Linked DNA regions of Homo sapiens: region 2 is linked to region 1. Evidence: promoter capture Hi-C in 16 types of primary human blood cells and fetal thymus (Javierre and others, 2016). All regions are on one chromosome and are shown on one strand. Each heading gives the region's core, a stretch centred on a gene start or on the middle of the fragment in contact. The rest is flanking DNA. Distances are from core to core; before and after follow the strand shown. Region 1 holds the start of SCN1A-AS1 (SCN1A and SCN9A antisense RNA 1). Region 2 overlaps TTC21B (tetratricopeptide repeat domain 21B).

Region 1 (4,612 bases), core at 1,001-3,500:
TAAATTATTCTGACTATGATCGTCTAGAAGAGATCCTAAATTTCACATGATTTATTATGTGAACTATCCATGGTCTTACTCTTTAATGACAATCTTCTCTGTAAGGAAAAAAATGAAATTAATCATCCTAATGATACTGATGTGTTTCATGAGAAAACTACAGGCAGAGCCTAATAAACTATGGCAGATCTGAATCTCAGGCAAAAACTATGTACTGTATTTCTATGTATTGTATGTAGATTGAATGAATTTTTTGCCTGAGATCTGAATCTCAGGCAAAAACTATGTATTGTATTTCTATGTATTGTATGTAGATTGAATGAATTTTTTACTTCTTAGTTTATTATTAGGGTGTCTTGAAAAACACCCCTGGAGTATACAAATGTAGATACAGACATATGTTAGATATCTGACCTTATTTTAACTGCAGTTTGCATAAGGCATGAAAAACTAAGGGTAGATAATGAAGTTATTTTTAAATGTAAAAGTTTTAAACATATGGCTGAAATATGTTGTTTTAGTTAACCCCAACCTACTAAAAATTGGCTTATTGAGAAATCAAATGAAATATTTTTGTAATTATAATTACACCAAATCAAATTATTTCTAGAAAAGAAATTTATAAAACAATACTTTCTAGGTTTGGGATTTCTATGTAAAAACCAATTTCTTTCTTGGCTGCTAAAAAATAGTTATGTGAGATCACAACAGTAAGAATAACATTTTACCTAGTTATTTTTATTATTATTGGCAGTAACATTCTTTTGTAAAGTAGGTGGCAAGAACACTACAAAACGAACTGAAACACTTCACAAATTGTCGTGCCCAGATGGTTTATGTCCCCAGAATAGTAATAGCTCTTTACAAGGAGATGGCAAGCATTTTGGCAGAAGTCTTTTTGGTTTCTCTTCAGTATGGATATTAAACTACTTTATAGACAGAATTGAAGATATATAATTTTTCTCCACATCAGATTATATATTATAAGGTGGTGAAGATATATAAATGTTGCACAACTATATTGAACTTTGGAGTTACAGATAAATTATATAAAGTCATCTGCTCAGTTAGTAACTAGAAATAATCCAGTTTAGCAATACATAAAACATAACGGAAGTAAAACATAAATTGACGGTGGAGGTATAGTTCAGCAGGATTAAAACCTGCATCATATGATTCTAAACTTGAATATTACAATCATCTTTTTAAATTTTGGAGTCTCCCATTTTTCAAAATTTTGAAGTCTCCATTTTTGCCAGAATGCTTTATTTACTGTATTTGTTTTGGGTCTGTCCAAGTAATATAAATTCCTTGGAGAGACCTAGATCAATTAGAGTAGATAAATACTATTTTAACACAGCTACTTATATTTTCATATATTTTATTTAGCTTTAAAAGAATATTTCATAACTATTAGGACCTGGCAGACACTGGTTTGGGAGTTAGAAAATAAAAGTTCTGATTTAAGTCCCACCATTAATAAGCTGCGTAACCTGGGACAAATGACATATTTATTTTGAAAGTAGGAAGCACATAAGTTCTAAACAAAGAAATTGCCCATTTTTCTTTGATTCAGTTTGTTTTCTATTAAATGAGAGGAATAGACTAATCTCTGTTTTTTAAATCTTTGCCATTTATTGGTTTTGATTTACTTATCTTTGTCTAATTCTCTTAAAATAACTTACTCAACCTTTCAGAAGTCCAGAGGTCAAGGTAAACTAGGTCTTGTCTGCCTGAAAGCCTGTATTATAGACTAACACTGTTCCACATCAACAACAAAATACTATCACATTAAGTACTATATATATTCTTGTCTGTGAATAAACCATAAGAGCTGCACTTTATATTCAGTTCACTAATCAATTGGTTAGTAATTTTTTTCCCTGTAAATCACTTCTAGGGTCAGATAAGGCAAAAAAATAATAGCAATTATTCTAATAGATCATAACAATAGCATTGGAAACTGGGAGGAGAAAATGAGAGAATTGTCTCACCAGGTTGTAGGGAGAGACGGGGGAGTGAGGAGGGGGAATTTCTTTTAGGCTTTAAAAACAACATAGAATTTAAGGACATTATTGAACCAAAAAATCTCAAGACATTACCTTAGTTATGGTATTTCTTGCATAAATACACAATGGCATCAGAGTGTGAAGTTGTGGATGCTGGGTGTCTCTCGGGGATGGGAAACACTAAATTTCATTCATCTTTCTCAGGTTCTGAACAAAGAAAAAATATTCAGAGGACTAAGACAGATATCACCTTTTTATCTCACAGAAGTTTGTGGAGAGTATAGCTTTGTGTGAAAGCCCAAAAGCCCGTTAACCAAACAGATCTAACCACAGAGGCCCAAGCAGTCACACAGAGCTGCCCTCCAAAGGAAGAAACTACATAATGATTTACTTATAAAAGGCCAGTTTCTTCGGGTACAAAGCATTTATAAGGTTGCCTTTACAGTTAAGACTTCTGTGTGAAATGCCACAGGGAAAATGAAATACTTCATTGTGAGCTATCGTACATATTTGTTTGACTGGAGAAAAGCAGATGCCCAAGGGAGTTTAACTGTAAGGCTTCATGGGTTAGGATTACTTTAAATAAAGCTCCTCCATCTGCACTTTGAGGGTCACCAAAGCCATATGGTTTACCACTCCCAGTCACCTCAAGTATAAACATCTTTTGGCTGTGATAAATGCCTCCTCAAGTCCAGAACGTAATACATGTGTCCTCTTCTACGGGAAACAGAGATATATAATGCCCAGAAGCAAAAACCTCATCTAGTACTAGAACATTTATGATAAGTAATGAATTAGTAAAGTCTTAGAAATGACACTGAATATTATCAGTATTAACTTTCTGATCTTGTAAAGTCTCCCGAGAAGGTAATCTGTTAATTATAATGCTACAGATTTACCTCCCTCTTTTTCTTTCAGTTAGATATTACCAGATGATATTATATCTTTATTTATTATTTGTATATTCTAACAAATTTTTCCTTATAATTCTTTTGTCCACGTTATTTGATATTGGTCATGTTATTGCTATTACTTTACTATTTCTTTCCACTCAAAATTTCCACTTCATTTTCTTACAATCTTTTTTTTCCCCCATGATCTCTCACTTCCATTTCATGTTCTTTTGGATTATTTTTTTCCTGTCTTCTTTAGGATTGCTTATCTAATTGAATTCCACTTTTAATGTATTTTTCTTGTCTTCCAAAGAATCATTCTTCTTCCAGTTTTCTATTGCCCACTACTCTACTTATTTCCAATATTTTTTAAAATTCCTTCAGATTTGAAGTTTGCTAACATGCACTTTGTTACTTTTTCTTCCTAGCTATGGTTTCTTAGTTCTCTTCTTAATTTTATTTTGTCCAAATGCATAACCATAATCATCTTGAAAAGGCCTCTCTCTTTGAAGTCTTCTCTTGTTAGGAAAGTTTCATTGTCTTACCTCTTTTGAAAGGAGCAAGGTCTCCTCTATGTAACCAAATATTTAAATGCTGGTTTTTATGAAAAGAGAAAGCTGTAAGCCAAAACTGCAGATTCTATGAGGTTACTACCCCGTATCTAGTGACATGTATTTTCATAAATTAGGACAATTAAGTCTTCTGTTATAAATTTTTAGAATAAAGAGGTGAAATCTCCTTTGTAAGTGTAAATGGAAAATTCATGATTTATTTCTGTATTTTAATAGAATAAGTACAGATTTCAAATGTAATTTAGAACAATTTTTCATATTACTAAAAAATATTAATATTGAATGACATCTGACAGTTTTTTAGGTATTTCATAATTAACCTTATGAGATTTTTAATGAGTTTTATTCTTATAATTAATATAACATAATTTATTTTTAGGTAGCATTTGAATAGAAGATCTACTTAGAGTTAAAAAAATACTTTTTCTAGTATCAGTATGATTTCATTATAATATGGGTTATATTGCTTACATATGAATATAATTCCTGTATCTAACTAATTTATAATTATATATAATACGTTTGAACTGATCATATTTGTCAGTGTAGAATTCATGTCTTCTACTTTCTTGGTTGTTTATTTCTCCAGTAAATGATAGCTAGTGACCAGGGAGATTTTCTTTAGAGAGCTTTTCTCAAATGCAGTATTTCTGGAGAATAGGAAGGCTTTTAGTAACTGTTTCTGTCCATTCACACAACTTCATGGACAATAACATCAAGTGTGGCACTCTGAAAGACGGTGATTGTCGTAATGATCACATATGTTAAAATATACCTATATATGATATCTAAACATATACATATTAAGGAAAGTGCTAAAACAGTAAAATGAAAAGGATGAAACCGAATTGATGGAAAAAGACATACTAGATAAGTGCAAATAAGTAGAAATTAAAGTCATTATATGCTATGAGACAAAGTTGTCTTTAAAGGGAAGAAACTACAGTAAGATAAACAAGGGCCATTTAAGGAAGTACAGGGTTCAATTCACTCCAAAGATCTGATCATAAGTGTTATCTACACATCAAACAATACCGCATTGGAATTCATAGAACAAAAATGACAGAAACCACAATAAATAAAAACACATTAAATAGACATTAATTTGCCTCTCCCAACTTGGAACAGTCAAGTAGAA
Region 2 (5,272 bases), core at 790-3,289, 130 kb after region 1:
TAGTAGGCAGTCAGTAAATGTTTTGGATTGAATAACCTAACCTGAACCAAGGCAGTAGCATTAGGTATGTTTAGTGGGAGGTAGACTGGAGAAATAGAAGAACCTACTAAGTGGTTAGACTTAGAGAGACTGGGCAAATAGGAAGGGAGGATTCATGAGTAGCAGGGTAGCAGGTGGAAAATGGAAATATGAATCTGGAACATAGACAAGAGGTCTTGGCGCAGGACACATTTTTTTTTTATTCCATTAACATATGGGATGCAGAGGAACTTATTTTTTTCAGAATAGAACTCTTATACTATGATATCTTAATTAATTCTCACAGTGACCTGTACATTTGCATTACTAACAGCATTTTATAAATGAGCAGACTGAGGCGTTGTAAGAAGGACCAGAGATTCTTTTTGCCTTTAAATTCGCGTCCTTTTTATGGTGCTATGCCACTGCCTTTCAGGAGGATTATAGATGCTTAGTGATAGTGTGCAGAAGTCAAGTAAGGTATTAAACGTGTCCTTAGTTGTGGCAAAGTAAGAAGTCATTCTGCAACTTTAGGGAATGGAGCATTGGAGGAAAACTGTGTTTCACTGAAATGTGTTGTGGGGGTCTGGAGATGGGGTATGGAGCACACTTTTAAGAAACATGGCTAAAAAGGAGGTTAGGGAGCAGTGATCACAAGGAGGGAGGCAGAGTAAAATTACAGAGAACAGTCGCCTAACTGATCTAGAGAAGTACATGGACTATAGCCCTCCAGAAGCAAGAGACTATATAAAACAGAGCTGTCGGACGGGCGTGGTGGCTCACGCCTGTAATCTCAGCACTTTGGGAGGCCCAGGCGGGTGGATCACTTGAAGTCAAGAGTTCAAGACCAGCCTGGCCAACATGGGGAGCCCCATCTCTACTTAAAAATACAAAAATTAGCCAGGTGCGGTGGGGTGTGCCTATAGTCCCAGATCAGGAGGCTGAGGCAGGAGAATCGCTTAAACCTAGGGGGCAGAGATTGCAGTGAGCAGAGATTGCGCCACTGCACTCCAGCCTGAGTGACAGAATCTCCAAAACAAAACAAAACAAACAAACCAGAGCTGTCTAGATACCCTTAGATTTCAATCCTGTCACTTAGTCACCTGTATTTCTCACTGCTACTGAACAAGCTGTAGAGTCCAGGTAGGTAGGTATGGGGTGGCCCAAACTGCTTTCTGGTGAATCAGGTGTATCCTAGTGATGGTGGGAAAGTGTGGTTTCTGTCTTTGATGAGGTTAGCAACCAAGCCTTAGACATAATCGTAGGAAAAATGGTAGACAGCACAGGCCCATTTTTATTCAGAAGTTAGTAGGTCCTGATAGTAGTTTTGTCTTGTATATGGAAATAATATAACTTTGGAAAAAGCTTAAAGACAACGATTTTCATTGAAAAATAGTTTATTTATTCTTAACTGACAATTTATTTGTCGCAGAACTCAAAGCCGAGTAAGATAACATTTGATGATATGTTGAAGAATTAAATTTGTCATTACTTTGTAATGCTGTAATAAAATACTGGATATTTTAAAAAGAAGATTTTTTTTTTTAAAGAAACCTATGGTCTGGCAATGGAAGCCTCTTGTCTTTTTTTTTTTTTTTTTAGTTCCTGTTTATTGTCTGCCTTTCTGTTTTCTAAAACGTTCAAGAAAATGTGGGCAAAGGAAAAAAGGTGAAAGCAGCCTCATTTCGGTGCTGTTAACAAAAACTTAGGAAAAATAATTTAAATTATTAGAAAACATTGAATTATTTCAGTAATTTTATGATCATTCAGTTCTGCAATCCTTAGCATTGAGTTCTAGCCATTAATAGTATTTTAAGAAACTTGGAAGAAAAAAGTCACATTGCCTGAATTTTACATTATTCTAGATGTTAGATTATTATCTGCTTCTTAGAGTATTTCAGAGCACCAGAATTCCTTTATAACATTTTTTCATTATTTCCATTTAGACTTTGATTAATTACTATTGTCAAGAGAGATATTTCCATCATGTATTACTGGTTGCCAGTGAAGGAATTAAGAGGTATGGAAGTGATCCAGTCTTCAGGTTTTATCATGCCTATGGCACATTAATGGAAGGTACGTGTTAATCATTAAACATGTTCCATCAGTTTTAAATTCTTGCTTTGCACTAAGAACAGTTTTTCATATCATAATCTTGATTTTCAGGTAAAACTCAAGAAGCTCTTCGAGAATTTGAGGCTATTAAAAATAAACAAGATGTATCACTTTGTTCTCTACTTGCACTGATATATGCCCATAAAATGAGTCCTAATCCAGGTATGATATTTAAATGCAATGCTTAGGACATTTTTTCCTATTCAGTTTATTTTTATTTTTCTCAGTTACCAAGTCATTCAGTCTGATCACACTATATTATGTATTTTCTGTAGGTACAATTTATACATATGTTTATCTTCCTGACAAGGGTGTAAATTCATCAGGCACAAGAAATGTGTCTTATACTATTTTCGTGTTCCTTATATCCTCTGGCAGAGGTTTCATTAGTACATAGGGATTTTTTTAGATAAAAGGGAATGTATATTAGTAATTGTTACACAAAAAAAGGACAGCCAAAGAAACAGGTACCGTATGTACATAAATTGCTCTGCAGCAGCCAAGTTTACAACTTTTGTGCAAATATACAGCCAATGCAGTTTATTTCTGTATATTAAGCTTATTGAGAGCCTTAAAACCCTTTATGAGGGCTAGCTCTTGGGAGATATTCAGCAAATTTTTATGCAGTAGTAGGTTGACTAGATTCTGACTAGATTATAGAAGGAAATTTATACATAAACCAGCAATTAAAGTTGTGTAAACTGCCAGGCACAGTGGCTCAAGCCAGTAATCCCTGCAACTTGAGAGACTGAGGTGAAGGATTACTTGAGCCCAGGAGTTCGAGGCCAGCCTGGGCAACATAGTTAGACCTCCATCTCTAAAAAAAAACAGAAAATAAAAAATAAAGTTATGTGAACTGTCTTAATGTATAGTTAATGGCGAAGGCAGAAGAGTATCCAAATTGTATGTAATAAAGAAGAAGTAGTGTTATATTCTTCCATAAATATATATCCAGTAACAGCTAATAGGATTGTAAATATAGATTGTGTTTCAAAAAATTACATAATAAACAAAGGTCACAGACTGGTTCCTTGAATATTAGACGAGACTTTTTTCTAAAGCCAAGTATGACATACCTCCTTCATACATATGCAAATCAATACAAAGTTATTTAAAACATGTAAATATGTGCTTAATTTCTTCAAGAAACTGTGCCTAATACAGTTACAAGCTACAAAAGAATTCTAATAAGTGGTTCATGTCATCAAGTTGGTAATCTAGTGGAGAAAACAAAATGTAAAAAACACAAAGATTAAATTCCAATGTTTCTATTAAATAATACAAAATGAAACATGAGTTTATAATTAATTGAAGTTGGTATGCACTATTCAGCTGTAAGAGTAGGCTGAGAAGGCTTTTGAAATTTTGGAACTTAATCTGATCTTTGAAGGACTGGTAGAATTTGAATATGAAGAGTATTGGCCAGAGAGGAGAAATGGATGGGCAAATACATGGAAGTGGTTCAGGATTAGGCTCTTCTGTGGATCCCCTTTCTCCGTACTCCAGTGGGAGTGTGTTTAGCTAGAGCAGAAAATTTTCATGGGAGAGCTGTAGTTAGTATAGATTGAAGAAATTAGTACAAAATAATTTATTATTAGAATCAAGTTTTTATTTAATTGGTTATTCTTACCAGTGTTGATTCTGTTGGACACTGTGATTTGCAGGACACTGAAATGACAGAATCAGAAATACTGTTCAGAGGAACCTGAGTGCTAACTCTGCTTTGCACCAAGGATGATGCTGAATGGACTTGAGCTCTAGTAGGGGCCCAGATGTCTGTAAATACTGCCTAGGAAAGTCCTAGATTGTTAGTATACATTCCTTCCAGGATGCTGATGTAAATAAACCCTGCTTATAAAAAGGCTGCGATCTTTCAACAACTTTGTGCAGACGGTGTTAGAGCTGATTGATACCTCATTAGGGACGTGATGGAAATCTGAGTAGGAAAGATTTCCTGTACAATGCCTGCTTCTGCCTGGTGGTTGTTTTTTTTGTTTGTTTGTTTTCTTATTTCTGTTTCTGTATCATGGCTGTTTAATGAACACTTCTGAAGGGGTTGTAGGGGTGGGGAGTGGGGAGAGGAGAAAAGGGTCTTCTTGCTAAGCAATCTGTAGACTTACAGAAACAGTTTTGTTTCCTTCACTCATTAGATTGTACCTTGTTAATTTCACATTTAAATTTGTATCATTAGAGTTGAAAGGAAGAGTCACATACCTTTCTCTTGGTAGCCATTCCAGAAAGAGAACTGTTGGAATCACAGGCCGCAACTTACATTTCTTCTTCCTCATTGCATGGCTGATTCTGATTCTGATTCCATCCAGGGTTTGGGTGTAATTGACTTCTGTGTCCTAAGCAGATACTAATATATATATATATATATATATATGGGGGAGGGGAGAGAGAGAGAGAGAGTGTATAGACTTAATGTAAGTGAATAGAGTTATCTATTTAAGGGAGCAGTCAGTATTAAACTATAACAGCAATTATGCCATCTTTTTACTGACCCATAACAGTAGCTGGCATGTTTATATATTTTAGAATTGTATTTAAGAATTATTAATACGTTGAGTACCAGTACTGGACCTGTTCCTAATAATTGTGGTTAGAACCATTATACATTTTTATAAGTCTTATTATTAAAAAATATTAGTATATACAGCCTTTCTATTTTGGGAATGATGTAAACTCTATAGCTATATTGTGCATTACAGTGATCCTTAACCATATACCTCCTCTGTTGCCCAGGCTGGAGTGCAGTGGTGCAATCTAGGCTCACTGCAACCTCTGCCTCCTGGGTTCAAGCAATTCTCCCTGCCTCAGCCTCCCAAGTAGTTGGGATTACAGGCACCCACCACCACGCCCATCTATTTTTGTTTTTTATTTTTAGATGGAGTTTCGCCATGTTGGCCAGGCTGGTCTCGAACTCTTGACCTCAGGTGATCCACCCACCTCGGCCTCCCAAAGTGCTGGGATCACAGGTGTAAGCCACCATGTCTGGCCATATACAGCTTTTTTACCAAGTTTGAGGAACTGAATTTGAAATTTTATTTAATTCTAATTAATTTACTTTTTAAACTTAAAAATGATACTTGATTCAGTTATTAGAAAACTTATTTAGGAGTAACTTGAGTCTAAAAAT

Evidence for each region. The method cuts DNA at HindIII sites, captures the fragments that hold promoters and counts their contacts. A CHiCAGO score of 5 or more calls a contact.
Region 2: a contact is called between a fragment that was not itself captured here and the fragment with the promoter of SCN1A-AS1 in region 1, in 1 of 17 cell types (monocytes). The highest score is 5.4, in monocytes.

The regions. Positions count from the first base shown.
Region 1 is chr2:166,079,169-166,083,780 of GRCh38, reverse strand. SCN1A-AS1 (SCN1A and SCN9A antisense RNA 1) reads right to left here and starts at 2,250. Exons shown (of 12, transcript NR_110260.1): 1 at 2,103-2,250. All of the region lies in intron 2 of SCN1A (sodium voltage-gated channel alpha subunit 1), which reads left to right. The HindIII fragment of the contact is 13,795 bases long and covers 1-4,612 here.
Region 2 is chr2:165,946,417-165,951,688 of GRCh38, reverse strand. TTC21B (tetratricopeptide repeat domain 21B) reads left to right here. Exons shown (of 29, transcript NM_024753.5): 2 at 1,965-2,094; 3 at 2,185-2,295. It overlaps TTC21B-AS1 (TTC21B antisense RNA 1), which reads right to left. Exons shown (of 4, transcript NR_038984.1): 2 at 4,348-4,492; 3 at 3,764-3,801; 4 at 3,368-3,654. Among named protein-coding and RNA genes, the nearest start is that of TTC21B, 4.7 kb to the left of the region's middle. The HindIII fragment of the contact is 1,308 bases long and covers 1,386-2,693 here.